Regions from separate parts of the Homo sapiens genome. Here regions 1, 2 and 3 are each linked to region 4. The links are contacts of gene promoters, found by promoter capture Hi-C in human tissues and cell types (Jung and others, 2019). All regions are on one chromosome and are shown on one strand. The core of a region is centred on a gene start or on the middle of the fragment in contact, and the rest is flanking DNA. Distances in the headings are between cores, read along the strand shown.

Region 1 (5,275 bases), core at 2,776-5,275, 460 kb after region 4:
TTGGCCTCCCAAAGTGCTGGGATTATAGGTGTGGCCTCCCAAAGTGCTGGGATTACAGGCGTAAACTACTGCTCCCGGCCTTTTTTATTTATTTATTTATTTTTGATACGGAGTCTTGCTCTGTCCCTCCTGGCTAATTTTTGTATTCTTAGTAGGGAAGGGTTTTCAGCATGTTAGCCAGGCTAGTCTTGAACTCCTGATCTCAAGTGATCCACCTGCCTTGGCCTCCCAAAGTGCTGGGATTACAAGCGTGAGCCACTGCACCTGGGCCATAGATCTTCACTTTGGAATAATTAAGCTTTTTACTTTGTTTTGTTTATTCTTCTGTGTGTACATTATATTTCACAATGCAAAATATTTTTTTTAAAGTAAACAACAATAAAAAGCAAGTTTTTGCATGTTAGAATGAGCCAAGGGAGTTAGAGAGAGGAGAAACCATCATGAGATAGAGTAATCCGGGGAAGAATAGAAAAAGGCAGTAAAACAAGCCATGCCTTTAAAAATGGGAGGATTAACATGAATGGAGAAAAGGAAACACGTTCTGGATGAGGGAACCTGAGTGAGCAAAGGTATCATGAGCTTGATGAGTTTGGGAGATAACTGTGAGTAGGCCAGTATGACTGAAGTAGGTGGAGAACAATGGGATTCAAAATCAGTAAATTCGATTTGGACCAGATTATAGATTTTGTTACCAGGCAGAGACTTTTAGACTCTTTCCTTTAGGGAAAAGAGAATCAGCCTAATGAAAACAGCAAAGCCCATTTCATTTTTGTGTCCAAATTAAGGGCTTAATAACATTTTTATGTTCTTTGTGAGTATGTTTTAATGTGTATATAATTGCTTGTTTTTACATGGTTTGGGATTTGTGACAAGTCAAAAAAGGAAAAAATCCTAAATGTTAAATTTTGTGTCCCAAACTCCCAAACTTTTACTGGAGAGTTCCCTAAGATCCTCTGTTTAGAACCCAGTATTATCATTTTTTTAGAAACTATGTGTCTTTCAAGCAGGCACGGTGGCTCCTGTCTGTAATCCCAGCACTTTGGGAGACAGAAGGATTGCCTGAGGCCAGGAATTCTAGACCAACCTGGGCAACATAGTGAGACCTCATCTCTACAAAAAATATAAAAATTAGCCTGGCATGGTGTCACATACCTGCAGTTTCAGCTACTTGGGAGATTGAGGCGAGAGGATTGCTTGAGCCCAGGAGTTCAAGGCTGGAGTGAGCTGTGTTTGTGCCACTGTACTCCAACCTGGGTGACAGAGTGAGACCCTGTCTTAAAAGAAAAAAAAAAATTCTTCTGAGGGGTAACTACCACAGACTGGTTTTAAAATATTAAGCATCTGGCCAGACGCAGTGGCTCACATCTATAATCCCAGCACTTTGGGAGGTTTGAGGCGGGCAAATCACTTGAGGCCAGGAGTTCGAGACCAGCCTGGCCAACATGGTGAAACCCCATCTCTACTAAAGGAAAAAAAAAATTAGCTGGGTGTGGTGGCATGCACCTGTAATCCTAGCTATGCTGATGGGAGAATCTCTTGAACCCAAGAGGCAGAGGCTGCAATGAGCCAAGGTCACACTACTGCACTCTAGCCTGGGTGACAGAGTAAGACTGCCTCAAAAAATATAAACTAATTAAATTAAATATTAAGTATCATTGTCTTATGAAAACAATCAAGAAATTTAAATATAATTTGAAGAGTATAACCTTTCAAGCACAGTTAAAATTAGATACTATCTCAGTTCAATAACACTGACCTCAACTGAGAAAGTAAACATTGAGCACAAGCCTGACCAAAATAAAATAGGTTTATCTCCTGTTGAAATCAGGAATCTGCTTATTTGTTATTATTGCCTTTGGTAAGAGTTTTGATATAGATTATTAACTCATGAACAGTGTTTTAATTGACTTGCTAATGTATAAAACTTTTCATTTATTAGAATCGTTTCTTAAGTTACCTGTAAGGGGAGTAAGCCAATTACTGCTTTTGACTCCTAGTGGTCTTTTCATTTCTCATCTATTTAATTTGTGGATAATGTTTTTCAACCATCCTCTCTTTCTTGGAAAGCTTTCTCCTAGTAATGCCATTTATTGAATACTTACTACTTACTGTGAAAGAAAAGCTTTTCATCATATTTCTCATGTCACTGTGGTAAAAATTGGCAAGAAGTATTATCCATTGGAAATATGGCAATACATTTTCACTTATTTGTTTAATCACCAAAAATTTTATTGAATGACTCATATGTCATAGAAAGAGAGAACAAAAACAATTGTCCCTGCTTTTGAGGTCAATTTATGGTTTAGTGGCATAGGGATGGTTGGAGATGCTGGGAGTAGAAGCCAGAAAGTCAGCAGACCATTTCAGAACAATGTGATATGTGTATAAGTGTGTTCTGAGTAGGAAGGAAACACAGAGGAAAAGCACGTAAATCAGATGGGTGGTGGGAAGGAGCAGTAGGAGAGGGAAGAAGAGATGTTGGGAAAGACTTACAGGAGGTGATAACTCTTTTTTTTGTTGTTTGTTTGTTTGAGATAGAATCTCATTCTGTCACCCAGGCTGCAAAGCAGTGGCGTGATCTTGGCTCACTGCAACCTCCACCTCCCGGATTCAAGCGATTCTGCTTCCTCAGCCTCCCAAGTAGCTGGTATTACATGCACCTGCCACCATCCCCGGCTAATTTTTGTATTTTTGTAGAGACGGGGTTTCACCATGTTGGCCAGGCTGGTCTTGAATTCCTGACCTCAGGTGATCCAACTGCCTTGGCCTCCCAAAGTGCTGGGATTACAGGTGTGAGCCACTGCGCCCCGCCAGGAGGTAATAACTCTTAACTGGAATAAGAGTGAGTTAGTCTGTAAAGAGACAGGTTCTAGGAAAAAAGAACATCAACTGGATGTTCCTAATAATTTCAGTGATGTGCAACTGGAATAACCACAGATGTCTGAAAGCATCCCATCTCCTTTTAATGAACTCCAGTGTTTTAAAACTGAAGTATGAGAGCTGAACATCCAGTTACATGCTTTATTGTTTAAGTTTTCTAAAATTGTGAAATACAGTGTATCCAGAAAATTGTATAAAGCACATATATACAGTTTAACAAGTAGTTTGAAAGCCAACAGTCATGTAATCACCAATAGAACAATATCAGCATCCTGGAAGGCTTCTCTTATGCCTGCCCCTAATCACATGCTGCCCACTTCCCTGTAGTTTTGACATGTATGTATATCCCTAAACAATATATTTTAGTTTTGCCTGTTTTTAAACTCTATTTTATTGGGTTAATATTTTAATGTATTCTTTTGATCAATATAATGTTTGTGAGATTTGTCCATGTTGTTGCATATAGTTTAATCCAGTTCATCCTGATTAATATTTCATTACATGAATATACCACTATTCATTCTATGGGTTAATGCACATTCAAGAGTTCATTATGAACAGTGCTGCTAAAATTCTCCTGGTACTTGTCAGTTATCTTTTTTCAAACAATCTACTGTTATCCACTATACGTATGGGAATTATACGTATGAAATTCATATGTATTTTTAATTATAAAGTATGTTAATGCTACGCTTTTTCAAGCTGCTGATGATCCTCCATCAAGTATAGTTCATCTTTATTAGCAATAGGAGATTAGAAGTAAAAGCTTCTTTAAAGCTGGTAAAAAAAATTCACTAATCAAAAAGTTTTTTTTTGTTTTTTTTTTGAGACAGAGTTTCGCTCTTGTTACCTAAGCTAGAGTGTAGTGGCACGATCTTGGCTCACCGCAACCTCTGCCTCCCGCGTTCAATTCTCCTGTGTCAGCCTCCCAAGTAGCTGGGATTACAGGCATGCACCACCACGCCCGGCTAATTTTTTGTATTTTTAGTAGAAACGGGGTTTTACCACGTTAGCCAGGCTGGTGTCGAACTCCTGACCTCAGGTGATCCGCCTGCCTCGACCTCCCAAAGTGCTGGGATTACAGATGTGAGCCACCACGCCCAGCCCAAAAAGGTTTTTAAAATCAGTCACAGTCAGTCAGTGTCCAACTTGTTGATTATTGGCTATGAATGAAGAAAATTGGCCGCCTTAAAAAGTGACTCAATCCTAAAGCATTTTATTATAATTAAAATATTAATAGCAGGCCGAGCAAAGAACAAGACCTTGTCTTAAAAAAAAAAATTAAAAGTCTAATTTAAGTTACTACCTGGTCTTTCCTTTTAGTTTCCTAATCGCGCAAAATGAACAATAAGTCTCCCAGTAGCTACTGCGATTGTGAATAGGGCAACTGTATCAGAAGGGCTTGTTTGTCAGGTTTTTTTCTTTAAACATAAGCTGTTAAAAAAATTAACTTTTGTTTTTTATTATATCCAGGCATATTAACCCCAAATAACTATTTACTATTGGTATAAAAGGAAATAAACTGGAAGACCAAAGACCTGTTTTAATAGTAGGAAAATATAGCTTAAGCTATTTCATTAAGATCTTCTCCCTAATTCTTCCAATCCCCAAATGCACACAGTACTCTCCCAAAATATAAAATATCTAGTATTGATATTGAGACAAAGCTGCCCACTTGAATTTGGGATTTTGGCTGTAACCACTGTGCCTATAAACTTGCTGTCAGCCATTTCATCACTTTTGCCTCCATATTTTGTTTGTATAATTTATTTTCAAAACATTTTGCAGTTTCTATTGTTTAATCCTGCAAGGCAGGTATCATTCTCTTTATAGGAGTCAAAGTTAAATGATCATTTGGGCAATAAATTGTGGAATTTACATTCAAACTGACTCTGCAACTGGGCGTGGTGTTTCACTGCCTGTATTCCCAGCAGTTTGGGAGGCCAAAATGGGAGGATTACTTCAGGCCAGGAGTTCAAGACAAGCCAGGGCAACAAAATGAGACCCAATCTCTACAAAAAAATGAAAACAGCCCTGCGTGAACCTATAGTCCCAGCTACTCAGGAGGTTGAGGTGAGAGGATCACTTGAGCCCAGGAGTTCGAAGCTGCATTGAGCTATGATCACACCACTGTGCTCCAGCCTGGGCCACAGAGCACGACTCTGTCTCAAAACAGGAAAAACAAAACAAAAACAAATATCTGACTTTGCAGTTTAAAAAGGACATGCTGGCTGGGTGCGGTAGCTCACGCCTGTAATCCTAGCACTTTGGGAGGCCAAGGCAGGCAGATCATGAGGTTAGGAATTCAAGACCAGCCTGGCCAATATGGTAAAACCCCATCTTTACTAAAAATACAAAAATTAGCCGGGTGTGGTGGCACGCACCTGTAATCTCA
Region 2 (5,714 bases), core at 1,470-3,969, 440 kb after region 4:
GCCTACAACTTAGAGAATATGCTGTAGAAGGAGATTAAGATTGGGAGTAAGGAGAATAGCACCTAGGCCATTACTGTAGTACTGGTGAGAAATAATGGTTGCTTAGACCAGGATAGCAGAGAGAGGAGATTCAGGATAGATTTGGCAGTAGAAGTGATTGGATTTGTTGATGGACTGGTTGTGTAATACAAGGAAAAGATCAGAATCAAGGATGACTCTTAGATTTTTGGCAGATCACTTGATTAAATTATTTTCTATGATTTTCTTTTCCTATGGTCTCCAAAACTTCCTCCCTCTGTTGAATTCATAGGGCCCTGAACTCTGCTTTTTCTTTTTTCAAAATCAGTTCTCATTGTTTTCAGTATAACACATATATTGTGTTATTTCACAATATATATATTTTTTCCTTGTAACTGGCAGTAATGTCCTTTTTGCTTAAGTCAATGAAATAAAGTGCTGACATGAATTTCAATCATCAGTAATTTTAGTAGCAATAGATATTTCAGGGGATAGGGAAGCATATCTAAGGTACTGCATTATAGGCATTGATCTTATGCAGTCAAGATCTGCAATGATTATTTGTTATTAGGAATACATGTTGAAATAGGACAAAGAATTCTTATGATTCGTAATGAAAAATTATTTTATAGACTACAAGTAAGATTTTTGTTCTTTGTTGTATTTCAGCTAAGGATGGTTGTTCTAGCTGTAAGTATTTTTAAATTGTGTGTTCTTTTTTTAATACTGCCAAATTTGGCCTTGCTTAATTAAATGACACTAAAACTATCAATTGATTATGTCACATTATTCAAATAACTGATCTATTCAATGGAATGAAAAAGTAATATTTTGGGTGGTCATTTTTATTTGTTTGTTTTGCTGAGTTCACATGAAGTTTAGTCTAAACATCTAATTTAGTTCTTGAATACTTAGCCTTAGATAACTCAATTGTAAATTGTTTTTAAATAGGTATACACAAACCCAGAAGATCCTCAGGTAAGTGTGCTTGAGTTACTAAAGAAACATAATGCCTCTAATATCTAAAAATAACACGAAACATAATATAAGAATATCTTATGCTTTTAATTATGCTTTAATCAATATACTTTCATATATATTTTCACATTTGAGCTTCATAAAACTCTTCTGAGGTAAGGCAGGGCTTGGATTGTTACCTTTAAACAGATTAGCATGACAGAGATTATGTGACTGATCTTAGGCCACAAAGCTTACAAACTGTTAGAAACTTAACTTAAATCTCCTGACGTCTAATTCTTTATAGTATTTTTTATACTACATTTTAGAATTATGAAAGGGCTTGAGTTTTAGGAAAGTAAGAAAGTCATCCTTAAACTTCGAATATTCATCCCAATCCATTCATAGCTACCTATTTATCTTACCATTAAAGGAGAGAAGGGAGAACGTGAAAGGGAAAACCAGAAGATAAGAAACAAGGGGGAAAGATCTACTGAGTGCTTACTTTATATTAGGCTCTGTTCTTTGGGGCTTTATGTGCATTATCTCATTTATTCATCCCAACCTTCATGAGGTAACCACTATTAGCATCTCCGCTTTACAGATGAGGAAATCTAAGTACAAGGGGTTTCTTGCCTAAGGTCATAGTGGCTGAAGTGGCAGAACCAGGTTTTTGAACCTAGGAAGGCCAGTTCACAATTTGGGTGTTTACCCATTACGCTATAGCTGTTACAATATAACGTTTCATTCAGTCAAGGAGAGGTAGATTTAAACTGGTGTTAAAAATAGACGTTTAAAAACATCACTATGTAAGCAATGAAATATAAAGAAAGCAATAGAAGTATTCAGGCTTCAGGAGGGCTGAGAATGTGTCTTTTCTTTGATACTCACACCTGCGATTAATGCTTAATATGTATCCATGCTGACAAAGCAGATCATTTGGGTAAAGGCTGTGAATTAATAGATTGTGTTCAGAAAACTAATTGATTGTTCAGAAAATGTTCATTTATTTTCATATGTTATATAGTTGTGCATTTTTTCTATCAGTAAATTAGCAACCTTGTTGATACAATAATAATATTTATTGAATGTTTACTATATGTCAGGTACTTTATAAAGTACCCTGTATAAATTATCCCATTTGTGAATATTTATTCACAACTATCAATGAGATATGTACTGTCTTTAATCTCTTTTTTAGCTGGGGAAACTAATACTTAAACTAAGGCTTAAGTGGCTTGCCTGTGGTTACAGTATAGCAAAGATTTATGCCCTGTGTTAGCCACTCTGCTGAGGTATGTTGCCTCCCTTATCTGCCTGCTAAGGAGTTCCTTCCATGTGGTATAAATAACTGAAGGGGTGGCCTGCCCCTCCACACCTGTGGGTATTTCTAGTCGGGTGGGACGAGAGACTGAGAAAAGAAATAAGACACAGAGACAAAGTATAGAGAAACAATAGTAGGCCCAGGGGACCGGCGCTCAGCATACCAAGGACCTGCACCGGCGCCGGTCTCTGAGTTCCCTCAGTTTTTATTGATTATTATCTTCATTATTTTAGTAAAAAGGAATGTAGTAGGAGGGCAGGGTGATAATAAGGAGAAGGTCAGCAACAAACATGTGAGCAATAGAATCTATGTCATAATTAAGTTCAAGGGAAGGTACTATGACTGGACGTACACGTAAGCCAGATTTGTTTCTCACCACCCAAACATCTCAGTGGAGTAAAGAATAACAAGGCAGCATTGCTGCAAACATGTCTCGCCTCCCACCATAGGGCGGTTTTTGTCCTATCTCAGAATTGAACAAATGTACAATCGGGTTTTATACCGAGACATTCAGTTCCCAGGGGCAGGCAGGAGACAGTGGCCTTCCTCTATCTCAACTGCAAGAGGCTTTCCTCTTTTACTAATCCACCTCAGCACAGACCTTTTATGGGTGTCGGGCTGGGGGACGGTCAGGTCTTTCTCATCCCACAAGGCCATATTTCAGACTATCACATGGGGAGAAACCTTGGACAATACCCCGCTTTCAAGGGCAGAGGTCCCTGCGGCTTTCCGCAATGCATTGTGCCCCTGGTTTATTGAGACTAGAGAATGGCGATGACTTTTACTAAGTATACTGCTTGTAAACATTTTGTTAACAAGGCACGTCCTGCACAGCCCTAGATCCCTTAAACCTTGATTTCATACAACATATGTTTCTGTGAGCTCCAGATTGGATCAAAGTGGTTGGGTCAAAGTGGCTGGGGCAAAGCTACAAATTAACAACATCTCAGCAAAGCAATTATTTAAAGTACAAGTCTTTTTCAAAATGGAGTCTCTTATGTCTTCCCTTTCTACATAGACACAGTAACAGTCTGATCTCTCTTTTCCCTACAATAACATACATTACAATGAGTTGGGAAATAAATGTCTCTCCAAGACTGAAGCCCCAAACCCAAACCATGAAAACTGACTATGAGGAATCAAAAGTTTCAATGGATCAATAGGGATTAATATGGCAGAAAAAAGTATTGACTAAATGTTGAGTCATACAAAACAGAATATAGCTATTTAGCAGCTAGTACTGAATATCAGAAGCATAACTGCGATATTTTCTATTTAAGACAATTTCAGAATGTTACCAATTCAAATTCAAATACACCAATAATGGACCACTCATGGACTTCATAAGGTATTGTTCTATAGTTTTCTGTTTGTATTACAGATTACCACTTATTCATATTAATGCTATATAGCTAAACCTCAGGATTCATTCTGAAACTGCGGGGACATCCCCAATTAACCATCAAGATGTGGCTATGCAAAATGGAGTGGTGGCTTGCAGTAGCTTCAAGCCAGGATTCTGTGGCTAATAATAAGCAATTTTAATTGTGGAAAGAGAACTTAGGTGATTAGAAATATAGAAATATAATTTTAAAACATAATGTGCTTTCTTTAAACACTTCATATAAAATGCACTTAAGTAAAATTAAGTTATTATTTCTAGCAGATATTAATATTAAAATTTTATAATAGTGACATTAAAACACATGGTAACTTTCAAGTTAACAGCTTAATGCTATAATAGAAATAAGAATCTCAAATAGTTAAAATGTAAAGTTATGATATTAGAAGCCACAGGTTTTATAAAATAAATTAATATGTGATTCTCTTCTAGTAAAAACCAAAGCAACGAATCTAGCATGTTGTCTACTGACACCAAGAAAGCAAGCATTCTCCTCATTCGCAAGATTTATATCCTAATGCAAAATCTGGGGCCTTTACCTAATGATGTTTGTTTGACCATGAAACTTTTTTACTATGATGAAGGTACTATTTGCAATACATCCTGTTTCAGTTGGTACATATGTTTTATCATTATTGAAACAATTGGTTTCCATTCCAAATATTTTTAGCACCTAAATTTTTTGAAATTATAAAATTTACACTTAATATCACTATTCAAGAAAGAAAGATTTACAAAATTAAGCTTTAAAATAGATGCTTCTCTAGTGATAGGAACATATCCATGTGAAGTATAACCTCACTCAAATTTAACAATGAGTTAACAGTTTTCACTTATCAGATTGGTAAAACGTGTTAATCCATTATTGATAAGGATGTGGGGAAACAGGAACTTTTTTTTGTTTGAGACAGAGTCTTGCTCTGTCTCCCAGGCTGGAGTGCAGTGGCATAATCTCAGCTCACTGCAGCCTCCACCTCCTGGGTTCAAGCAATTCTCCTGTCTCAGCCTCCTGAGTAACTGGGACTACAGGCACTCGCCACCATGCCTGGCTAATTTTTGTATTTTTAGTACAGATGGGGTTTCACCGTGTTGGCCAGGCTAGTCTTGAACTCCTGATCTCAAGTGATTCACCCGCTTTGGCCTCCCAAAGTACTGGAATAACAGGCGTGAGCCACAGCACCCGGCTGAGCAGGCACTTTTGTACACGCGAGGGACTGTAAACAGGTGCAACATTTTTAGAGGACAATTTGGCAGTATCAAAATTTTAAATGCACACTATCTTTAATCCAGAAATTCTATAGTGAGAAAAATATATTGAAGATATAATTGTGCAAATACGCAAAGTTATATAAGGATTTTGATTATAGCATTGGCTAAAATAGGAACAAACTGGAAACAACTTCAGTGTCCTTCATTGGGGACTGAGTAAATAAATTATGGTCCATCTGCGTAATAGAATACTACACAAGCTGTTAAAAAGAAGGTGCTGATAAATTACGTTATCCAAGATATATTATTAAGTTAAAACCAGCTAGGTATGGAATGGTATGAGCTCATTTGTGTTTTTTAAGAAATTTTATATGTATTTCCTAAAACCTATGTAAATATGAAATATCTTTTATTATATGCATGTCTTCTAGAAGAACATAAAGCAACAAAAATAACAACTAACATTTATTGAGTATTTACTATGTGCCAGTTCTCTTCTCAACATTTTACGACACTTTATTTTATTCCCACAATGACCCTATGAAGTAGGTACTATTATTTTCACCATTTGACAGATGAGAAAATCAAATCAGGGATGATGAATAATTTACTCAAGGTCACAGACAGTCAAGTGAAGAAAACAAAGCTTACCTTTAGGGAATAAAATGGGGACTTGGACATAGCAGGAGAGTAATTCGTATGTTTTACCTTATGCCCTTATATACTATTTGAAATACCTGCAATCTGCGTGTGTTTTTATAATAATAATTATATTTTCTTTAATTTCATGAACAGCACAGTTTA
Region 3 (5,020 bases), core at 288-2,787, 320 kb after region 4:
TTAGGATTAAAACAGAAGAAATAAAATCCAGGTCCCCAGCTGATGGACCAGGCCAGTTAGATGACCATAAAATTATATATGTTGGCTGGGCACGGTGGCTCACACCTGTAATCCCAGCGCTTTGGGAGGCCGAGGCGGGTGGATCACTTGAGGTCAGGAGTTCGAGACCAGCCTGACCAACATGGTGAAACCCTGTCTCTATTTAAAAAAATACAAAATTAGCCAGGTGTGGTAGCACACCCCTGTAATCCCAGCTACTTGGGAGGTTGAGACAGGAAAATTGCTTGAACTCAGGAGGTGGAGGTTGCAGTGAGCCAAGATCGCGCCATCGTACTCCAGCCTGGGCAACAAGAGCGAAACTCCATCTTAAAAAAAAAAAAGTATATATCTTACTCTTCTTTCTGTATTCTAGGAACTCTTAGGAAAGAATATTGTAGAATTCTGTCATCCTGAAGACCAGCAGCTTCTAAGAGACAGCTTCCAACAGGTAACTTTTTTCCTGGTTTGGTTCTGAATAAATATTTGTCATATTCACTCCATAAATATTGACTACTGATTAACTGAACACTGTGGCAGGCACTACAGTTTTATGTTCTTTAGTAGTTAATCTGCATTTTTAAGGAATAGAAAAGGACTAATACTTTGAAATTATGGATAATGCCCAAGGTATTTCTGTTTGGCTTTGGCTATTTACTGTCTTGTATTCAATTAACTGTATCCAAGGAGCTGTCTTTAAGGTATTTAAACTATTGCGCCAGGCATGGTGGCTCATGCGCCCAACCTCTGTAGATGCTGTGAAAATAGATGTTTTCCTCGTCTGGGCATGGTGGCTCACGCCTATAATCCCAGCACTCTGGGAGGCTGAGGCAGGTGGATCACTTGAGGCCAGGAGTTCAAGCCCAGCCTGGCCAACACAGTGAAACCCCATGTCTACTAAAAATACAAAAAATTAGCCTGGTATGGTGGTGCATGCCTGTAATCCCAGGTACTCGGGAGGCTGAGGCACGAGAATCACTTGAACCTGGGAGGCAGAGGTTGCTGTGAACTGAGATCATGCCACTGTACTCTAGCCTGGATGACAGAGCTAGACTCTGTCTCAAAAAAAAAAAGATAAAAAAGAAAATTGTATACTTCACTAAGCTTGTAGTAGAAAAATTCATTTTATATAGTTTTTTTTTTTTTTTAGAAGGAGTCTAGCTCTGTCGCCAGGGTGGAGTGTAGTGTGCAATCTCAGCTCATTGTAACCTCTGCCTCTTAGGTTCAAGCGATTCTCCTGTTTCAGCCCCCCGAGTAGCTGGGATTATAGGCACATGCTGCCACGCCCAGCTAATTTTTGTATTTTTAGTAGAGGCGGGGTTTCACCACGTTGGCCAGGATGGTCTCGATCTCCTGACCTCGTGATCCACCCACCTCAGCCTCCCAAGGTGCTAGGATTACAGGCATGAGCCATTGCGCCCAGCCTAGACTGTTCTTTTATGGATGAGTGAGAGTCGTAATGAATTATATAAGCTGACTGTTAATTGTCATTCTCAGGCTCCAGCTCCTGAAAATATCTGGTGAATTTTATAGACATGGCTTTTGATAACGGTTTTTACTTTGTATTAGACAAGTTAATTAACCTCTTTAAGTCTCAGTAGTGTCGTTATTGATACAATGAATATATTAATAGTACCTAAATTCAGACGGTTGTTGGGAAGATTAAATAAGGTAATGAATATAAAACACATCACCCAGTATTTGATACGTAGTATTACAAAATAAGTGGTTAGCTTCTAATACTGTTTATTTTTATTTTTTTAATTTTTAGGAATATAGAGTTAAAAGATTATTTTCTATTCCATGAGACTAGTATCTAAAATAACCTAAAATTGGCTGGGCATGGTCGCTCATGCCTGTAATCCCAGCACTTTGGGAGGCTGAGGCAGGTGATCACTTGAAGCCAGGAGTTTGAACCAGCCTGGCCAACATCTTGAAACCCTGTCTCTACTAAAAATACAAAAATTAGCCGGGTATGGTGGCTCATGCCTGTAGTCCCAGCTACTTGGGAGGCTGAGGCATGAGAATTGCTTGAACCCAGGAGGCAGAGGTTGCAGTGACCCAAGATTGCCCCACTGCACTCCAGCCTGGGCGATAGAGCAAGACTGTCTAAAAATAAAATAAAATAAAAAATAAAATAACTAAAATTACTTTTAAAAAATAAAAGCAAAACAAGACTAAAGCCAACTTAATTTTATTTATGGAAACCTCTGTAGATGCTGTGAAAACAGATGCTCTCATCTGGGTGCAGTGGCTCACACCTATAATCCCAGCACTTTGGGAGGCCAAGGCAGGCGGATCATTTGAGGTCAGGAGTTTGAGACCAGCCTAGCCAACATGGTGAAAACCCGTCTCTACTAAAAATACAAAAATTAGCTGGGCGTGATGGTGCACGCCTCTAGTCCCCAGCTACTCAGGAGGCTGAGGCAGGAGAATCACTTGAACCCTGGAGGCGAGGTTGCAGTGAGCCAAGATTGCACCACTGCACTCCAGCCTGGCGACAGAGCGAGACTCCATCTCAAAAAAAAAAAAAAAGAAAAAGAAAAGAAAACAGATGTTCTCAGGTTTCGGGGAAAAAATAGGATTGAAGAGCAATATATAAGCTATATTCTGTGTCCTTAAACTTACCAAATTTCTGGTATAGACTTGTAAAGCTAGGTCAGAGTATCTTTAATGGATTTCCCAAGGGAAGTAGGGAAACAGTCTTTTCCTTCCTGGAAATAAGTTATTATTCCTATTTGACTAGAATAGTATTAGGTTGGTGCAAAAGAAATTGTGATTTTTTGCCATTTTTTTAAATGGCAAAAAATGCAATTACTTTTGCACCAACCTAATAAGAAAGCTTGAGTCTCTGGCCGGGCTCAGTGGCTCACGCCTGTAATCCTAGCACTTTGGGAGGCCGAGGCAGGCGGATCCCGAGGTCGGGAAATCGAGACCATCCTGGCCAACATGGTGAAACCCCGTCTATACTAAAAATACAAAAATTAGCTGGGCGTGGTGGCACGTGCCTATAATCTCAGCTACTTGGGAGGCTGAGGCAGGAGAATCGCTTGAACCAGGGAGTCGGAGGTTGTAGTGAGCCGAGATTGCGCCACTGCACTCTAGCCTGGTGACAGAGCGAGACTCCGTCTCAAAAAAAAAAAAGTCTGGGCACGGTGGCTCACACTTGTAATCCCAGCACTTTGGGAGGCCGAGGCGGGCGGATCACAAGGTCAGGAGATCAAGACCATCCTGGCTAACATGGTGAAACCCCGTCTCTACTAAAAATACAAAAAATTAGCTGGGCGTGGTGGCACGCGCCTGTAGTCCCAGCCACTCGGGAGGCTGAGGCAAGAAAATCGCTTGAACCCGAGGGGTGGTGGTTGCAGTGAGCAGAGATCGTGCCACTGCACTCCAGCCTGGGCGACAGAGGGAGACTCCGTCTCAAAAAAAAAAAAAAAAGCTTAAGTCTCTGAAAGGAAGCATGAGAAATATGCTTCCATGTTTAATCACTTAGTTTTTACTCTCATTTTGTTTTAATATTGAAAAATATTGGTGCCTCAAGGACAATGACAAGAGTTTTAGGGTTATAGAAATTGGAAAATTTTTATTTATTTTTGTAATGAAAATTTTCTATGAGTTCCACTGATGGCATGAAAACTTTTTCAGGTAGTGAAATTAAAAGGCCAAGTGCTGTCTGTCATGTTCCGGTTCCGGTCTAAGAACCAAGAATGGCTCTGGATGAGAACCAGCTCCTTTACTTTCCAGAACCCTTACTCAGATGAAATTGAGTACATCATCTGTACCAACACCAATGTGAAGTATGTATTATACAGGAGTGTGAAAAAACTGTTTTTCCTCTGTTCTCACAACAGAAAACACTTCTGATGCCCTATGTGGGGGGTAAACAATCAAGCAACAACACAAAAATTTAGCCGGGCGTGGTGGCATGTGCCTGTAGTCCCAGCTACTCTGGAGGCTGAGACAGGAGAATCACTTGAACCTGAGAGGTGGAGGTTGCAGTGAGCTGGGATCATGCCACTGCACTCCAGCCTGGGCTACAGAGCGAGACTCCATTTCAAAAAAAGAAAAAGAAAAAAGAAATCAAGCAATCAGTAGTGGACACCAGCTGGGTGTCCTTCCATTCAATTCAGTTCACTATCTACTTGGAGATAGCATCAGATCCCCCAATTTGTGTATGCAGTACCACAAGACTGCTCCCACTTCTGATGCCAGTTGCAAGCCCCAGGTTGTTTTACCTGTGCATCTGACTGACCAGCTGTCTCCCATGACCCCCTACTTGGGTTCAGTCAATTTGCTTGAATGGCTCAGGGAACATTTACCTATGTTTACCAGTTTATTATAAAGGATATTACAAAGGATACTTTGTACATCAGATGAAGAGATAGATAGGGCAAGGTAAGGAGGAAGGAGTGCAGAGCTTTCAGACCCTTTCTGGGTGGGCTACCCTCCGGGGATCTCCATGTGTTTACCTATCAAGAAGCTCCTCAAACCCAGTCCTTTTGGGTTTTAATGGAAATTTCATTATGTAGCCATGAGTGATTAAATCATTGGCCATTGGTAATCAACTTAACCTTAGGTACCGGCTCCCCTCCATGAGGTTGAGGGTTAGGGCTAAAAGTCCCAGCCCTCTAATTTTACCTTGATCTTTCCAGAGATGAGCCCCCATCTTGAAGCTACCTAGGGGTTGCCAGCCCTCAGTCAACTCATTAGCAGACAAAAAGACACTTATCACACTGAAGATTCCAAAGATTTTAATTGGTAAAAATCCAGGTCCACTTATACATGGATTTTTTTCAGTAAATATATTAGAAAATTCTTTTGATATTTGTGACAATTTGAAAAACCCAAAAATAAGCTACATAGCCTGGATATATTGAAAAAATTAGAAAAAGTTAGCCATGTCATACATGAATGTATTAAATATATATAAATTCTAGTCTATTTTATCATTTACTACCATACAACATATACAAATCTATTA
Region 4 (5,404 bases), core at 2,564-5,063:
CATGAAAATGGATATAGCAAGTATAGGTAACTCTAGAAGCTTAGTTATGAAGGGAAGAGAAATCGAGTGATGACTGGGTGCAGACAAGGATCAAGAGAAAGTTTGGAATGTTTTCCTTTTAATCATGGGAATTACTTGAGCATGTGTATATGCTAAGGGGAAAATATCAGTAGAAAAGGACAGGTTAAGACTGGGAATGGTGGCTGACGCCGGTAATCCCAGCAGTTCGAGAGGCCGAGGCAGGAGAATCACTTGAGCCTAGGAGTTCAAGACCAGCCTGGGCAACACAATGAGACTCTGCCTCTATTTTTTTTTTAAGTTAATACTTTCTGTGTGCAGGCACTATGCTACAAGGAAAGGATACAGTGTTGAGCAAGATAGACAACCAGGGACTGCATACAACTTACAGTAAAGTCATAGGTGAACCTTCGACAGGTGATACGGATGGCATTCACTAGGATGAGAGAGACATGATGCAGGTAAGTATATCTGTAGGGAGCAAAAAGTTGGTGGAATTCTCACTTTATTATCTCTGTTTTCTCTGAAGACGGATGAGGGTTTTCCTGAGATGAACAAGGAAATGGTAAGGAAAGGAACTTGCAAAAAAAGGAGGAAGTTTGAAATATCTCCCTGGGGATTGGAAGAGAGTGCTTTTCCAATCCAATCTGTGGGACTGTGTGATTTCCTTTTTTTGAGATGGAGTCTCGCTCTGTTGCCCAGGCTGGAGTGCAGTGGTGCGATCTCGGCTCACTGCAAGCTCCGCCTCCTGGGTTCAAGCAATTCTCCTGCCTCAGCCTCCCCAGTAGTTGGGACTACAGGCGCACACCGCCACGCCCGGCTAATTCTTTTTATTTTAGTAGAGACGGGGTTTCACTGTTGTTGCCCAGGCTGGTCTCGAACTCCTGAGCTCAGGCAATCCACCCGCCTCAGCCTCCCAAAGTGCTAGGATTACAGGCCTGAGTCACTGCGCCCGGCCAGGACTGTGTGATTTTCTTCAAAACACTAAGGGAGTAGGAAGAGAGGTTTTTTATTTTTATTTTTATTTTTTTAAGAGTCTCCCTCTGTGTCACCCAGGCTGGAGTGCAGTGGCACGATCTTGGCTCACTGCAATCTCCTGTCACCTGAGTTCAAGCAATTCCCCTGCCTCAGCCTCCTGAGTAGCTGGGATTGCAGGTGCCCATCACCACACCCGGCTAATTTTTTTTTGTATTTTTAGCAGAGCTGGAGTTTCTCCATGTTGGCCAGGCTGGTCTCAGAACTCCTGACCTCAGGTGATCTGCCCACTTCGGCCTCCCAAAGTGCTGGGATTACAGGGGTGAGCCACCTCGCCCAGCCAAGAGAGTCATTTTGATTTGTCCTTCAAAATAGCTCTCAGATTCATGTATTTCTTTCTAAATCTGTTCCCATCACCCTTGTCTGATTGTCCCTCTCCCCTCACCTTTAAACCTTGTTTACTTGCTAGTAGGTCTCTGTCTTCTTGCTTAAAAAAATAAAAAAATACAAGTTGCACCCTTTTTCAAGAATTTAAAATGACGTCCTACTCCTGTCAGATGATTTTAACCAGCTCACCTAGTCATTCCAGGCCTTCTGTAATTTGTCTTCCCCTTTTCCCTCCCCTTGCTCCTAACTAGTGCCTTTCCCACACACCAGCCTCACAGGACCTTTTTTTTATCCATGCTGCAGGCTCCTTGCTAACCAAGTAAAAGCTTTTGCTGAAGCTGTGTCCCTCGGGAACATTTTCTTCTTTTGCACCAAGCCAACTCCCACCAAAGTTTTCCTGTCCTTCATGATAAAATGTATCCAGCATCTTTCTGTGCAGTCTTCGGAGAATATTTATTGTCTTCTTTGCACATTTGGAAATTTATGTTCAATGTAGCTTTTCTTTTGAGACTTGGTGTTGTCTTTTTAATAGTTTAGTACTATTAAATATTTAATATTTAGTACTGTCTTTTTAATAGTTTAGACTTTTTAATAGTTTAGTATGTGCAAATCTTATTTTAATTCAAATATATTATCATTTTCTTAAAGTCTGGAACCACAACCCACAGTGGATTGTGTAGTAGATTGTGTCTCAAGTAAGTGTTTAATACTTACTGGATTGAACTGAGATTTGAGCTGGGTCCTAAAACTTTAAATGAATTACACCTTAATCCCCACTCACTAATCTATTCCATAAGCATGTATCTGAGTACCTAAACCCTGTGCTAGGAGCTGAGGAGATTTCTTTTAACCTCTCAGTGCCTCTGTATTTTGAGGTGTCTTTCTCTGAAAATTTCTTTCCAGCCTTTAAAACAACCCCAACTGTCTGACAGTTTGTTGAATTGCCTTGGACCCAAGATCCCTCGGCCGTTAATTCTGTGTAGATATTGTCCCTGTTTATCTTCTTCTATTTTTTTTAGATCTGACTTTACTGAGTTACTGTTCATCTTACTGGTTCACCTGGCCTTAAATCTGTCTCTCTGTCTCTCTCTTTCTCTGTATGTGCGTGTGCACATGTGTGTGTATGTTTAGGTCTCTTGTGTACTCGCTGTGGGGCTTAGCCTAGTTGTTGATACTCCCCTCCCTGATCACAGTCCAGTTAAGGCTGGCCTAAAGTGGCAAACCCCTTCCCCCTCCTTTCCTCTAGTCCAGAGTCCAAGATGTGGGTAGAAGTGTTCAGTCAGATAAAACTATCTGAGAATGCCAGTGTCTCCCAGGCCACCCACTTTCCTGGAGAATTTTGAGAATGTCTTTTGTCCCAGCCCCACATAGAGAAGAATCCTACCAGGCAATACCAAGGTACCAAGCAATCCTGTCTGTAGTAGTTTATTCTTCCTCCTCACTGACATTCCCAGGGGCTTTATGAAGGGTGGGGAGGGAGAAGGGGCAGTTTTGCTGTTTGGAGGGATGTCACGGTCCTCTGAGGAAAGGTGGGACGTATGTCTGTGGGGCAGGAAGGCTGTGTGGGTTACTTTATCAAGTCTTAGCGTTGCTACTCTTTGTGCCTTTCTCTGAGTCAGTTAGTCTTGATTTCCACATCTGTTTTGGCTTCAGCCTCTCTCACCTGCCCTCTTCCATTACCCAACAGCCTGACTGCTAGCTAGTTCTTGCCATAGTGGCCCAAACTCATGCTGCTTTGTAGAGGTGGGAGGGGAGGAGATCATGGAAACAAGGGAAACCTCCTGCTGACACCTTCCTTTCCTTTCCCAGGCCTCCAGCCCCCACGCGCATGCTAGGCCTCCTTATCCGGGTCAGGACGAACCAGAGGAGGCCTACGGGGAGAAATAAGGAGACAGAGGGACAACGCATAGAGAGGAGCAACAGAGAGTTGGGGGCAGAGTCAGGGAGATGCGGGATGCGCCCTCGGGAGCAAGGTCGCCCAAGCCGTATAGGAGGGGAAGGGAGGACGGATCGCGCAGGCTCTGACAGCCCAGCCCAGCCCCGCGAGGCTCCCAGGTTTCCTGTCTGTTTCTCCTCCCAGCTCCTCTTCCTCTCTTGGGAAATTTCTCCCCAGAGCCTCTCCTGTGCCAGCCTGTCTCTGCTTCTGTATGTATTTCTTCCTCTGCCCGGTGTCGGCGACTGTCCGTGGGTCTCTCCATCTCGCGTCTGTCTCTGGTCTCCAGTTCAGCCTCCCGGCCTGGCCCTCTGGGTGGACGGTGCTCCTGGCGCCCCTCCCCGGGCAGCACTATTGGCGGAGAGGTGACGAGAAGGCGGTGTCTAGCCGCCCTCCGAGGGCGGGATTAGTCGCGGCGACCCAAAGGCGGGCAGGAGGTGGGCCCGGCTGGGAGGCGGGCGGGGCCACTGGGGCCGAGCCCAGAGCCCCGGGCGGTCGCATTGTTTTCCTCCGCGGATCCGCGGCTGGACTTGGACCCAGGGCTCTCCCGACAGCGCCCTGGAACCCAAATTCAAGCACCATCCAATTCGGACGCTCATCGCATCTCGCCTGAGCACAACCACGGATTGCGAACTCAGCGCAGCGCGTGGCCGCTGGCCGCCCGCGGCGATCTCGATCCCGCTGACCCGAATCCTGGAGCAAGTACCCCGGGCAGGGAAGGGGCTGCGGGGAGGCGGGGAGGGAGCAGGAGGGCGCGGCCGGCGGGGGGCAAGCTTCTGAAGCGCTAGGGGACCAGGGAGGTGTCGGCGCCCGGTGTGCCTGGCTGACGGAGAGGGTCAACGAAATTGGGGTGCAGGGAGGAAGGAGGGACAGTGGCCGAGCCCCGTAACTGTACTGGTGAGAGCAGAGTCTGGGCACCTCGTTCAATTGGGCTTTCGTCGAGTCGCATCCCGCTGGACTGGGAAGCGCGAAAAGGGATTATTTGAGGCGCGCTCCGTAGAGAGCGTGGAAAACCTGGCCCCTTGCTTTCCCAGCAAGGAAACTAGGGCTCCGAGACCCACGGAGAACTAGACCCTCCTGACGCCCCTGAAGGGATGGGAAGAGGGACGCATCGTTCCGGACTTTGTGTCACGGGTGCTCCTCTGTCCTTGTGCAAGCCGGAATCTGAGCACCCTCTGAAGGGTTGGCTCGTGCAAAGAGGCGGCGAATGGGGCCCTCGAGCAACATCGGTCCCAGCGCCTATCTCCTTCCTTCAGCCCGCTCGGCCCGGGGCTTTGTTAGACTGAGGTCTCCCAAGGAGGACATCCGAGCTGGCAACTGCCTCCTGAGCCCACGGTCCCCACTGAGCGCCGGCCTCAGGCCCGCCCTCGTCGGTTCTCAGCCTCTGGCCCTGTTTCCCTGGCCTGGGAGACCCGCCTCCGCTCCCCAACCCCCGCTCCTATCCCCTCTTCGTCTGCGCCTGCAGGCCCCTCCAGCCCCTCCTCTCGCTAACGTGGCTCTGGGACCCGGTCCCGGCCCAGACTCTGCTACCGGCCCCTCCTCGGAGCCCCGGATCCGGTGAGGGGGAGACAGGTCGAGCCCCTGGCCCTAGGCCCACCTCTTTTCGAGGCTTTAGACACCTGGATTGTCCTGGTTGGGGGTTGGGTGGGAAGGAGGGTAGGTGCTGAGTGTGGGGCTAAGAGCTAAGAGTGGGGGAAATGGCTTGGAGAAAGGAAAGCTCCGGTTCCACAGGCTCCTTGGCGCGACCCTGCTCCCTCTGAGGAAGGTGGACTGGGGCGGGCGACCAGCCCAAAGGCTTCCTGCTATTGTCCCCAGCCCAGTCTCCCCTTCTCCATCCCTTCCACAGCTCTCCTAGACTCTGGCTGTGACCCCAGCCATTCCCCAGAGGTGGCTTCGGGGCCAGGAGAGAGAAGGGCTGTTTCCTCTTCCCAGCAACGGGAGGATCTGGAAAGGGGAGAGTCGGCCAGGTCTCTCCCATGTGCTTCAGATGGGGTGTGTGAAGCAGCTCGGATTCTTCCAGGGCAGAGTGATCTTTTCTCCAGGCCAGGAGTTGAGGAGCTGACCAGATGCTGCTTCCCAGAAACAGCTACA

Evidence for each region. The method cuts DNA at HindIII sites, captures the fragments that hold promoters and counts their contacts. A contact is called where the count stands out against the background at its distance.
Region 1: a contact is called between a fragment that was not itself captured here and the fragment with the promoter of SEMA6C in region 4, in 1 of the 25 tissues and cell types used here (spleen).
Region 2: a contact is called between a fragment that was not itself captured here and the fragment with the promoter of SEMA6C in region 4, in 1 of the 25 tissues and cell types used here (spleen).
Region 3: a fragment that was not itself captured here is called in contact with the fragment with the promoter of SEMA6C in region 4 in 1 of the 25 tissues and cell types used here (spleen).

The regions. Positions count from the first base shown.
Region 1 is chr1:150,686,007-150,691,281 of GRCh38, reverse strand. All of the region lies in intron 2 of GOLPH3L (golgi phosphoprotein 3 like), which reads left to right. Among named protein-coding and RNA genes, the nearest start is that of GOLPH3L, 8.5 kb to the left of the region's middle. The HindIII fragment of the contact is 5,683 bases long and covers 1,184-5,275 here.
Region 2 is chr1:150,706,827-150,712,540 of GRCh38, reverse strand. HORMAD1 (HORMA domain containing 1) reads left to right here. Exons shown (of 15, transcript NM_032132.5): 6 at 688-708; 7 at 970-996; 8 at 3,580-3,647; 9 at 4,134-4,285. Among named protein-coding and RNA genes, the nearest start is that of HORMAD1, 11 kb to the left of the region's middle. The HindIII fragment of the contact is 4,564 bases long and covers 438-5,001 here.
Region 3 is chr1:150,822,010-150,827,029 of GRCh38, reverse strand. ARNT (aryl hydrocarbon receptor nuclear translocator) reads left to right here. Exons shown (of 22, transcript NM_001668.4): 13 at 413-487; 14 at 3,685-3,836. Among named protein-coding and RNA genes, the nearest start is that of CTSK, 16 kb to the right of the region's middle. The HindIII fragment of the contact is 6,293 bases long and covers 1-4,683 here.
Region 4 is chr1:151,145,040-151,150,443 of GRCh38, reverse strand. SEMA6C (semaphorin 6C) reads left to right here and starts at 3,813. Exons shown (of 19, transcript NM_030913.6): 1 at 3,813-4,011. It also overlaps a transcript of LYSMD1 not described here. RefSeq lists silencers at 3,336-3,395, 3,606-4,065. The HindIII fragment of the contact is 4,441 bases long and covers 874-5,314 here.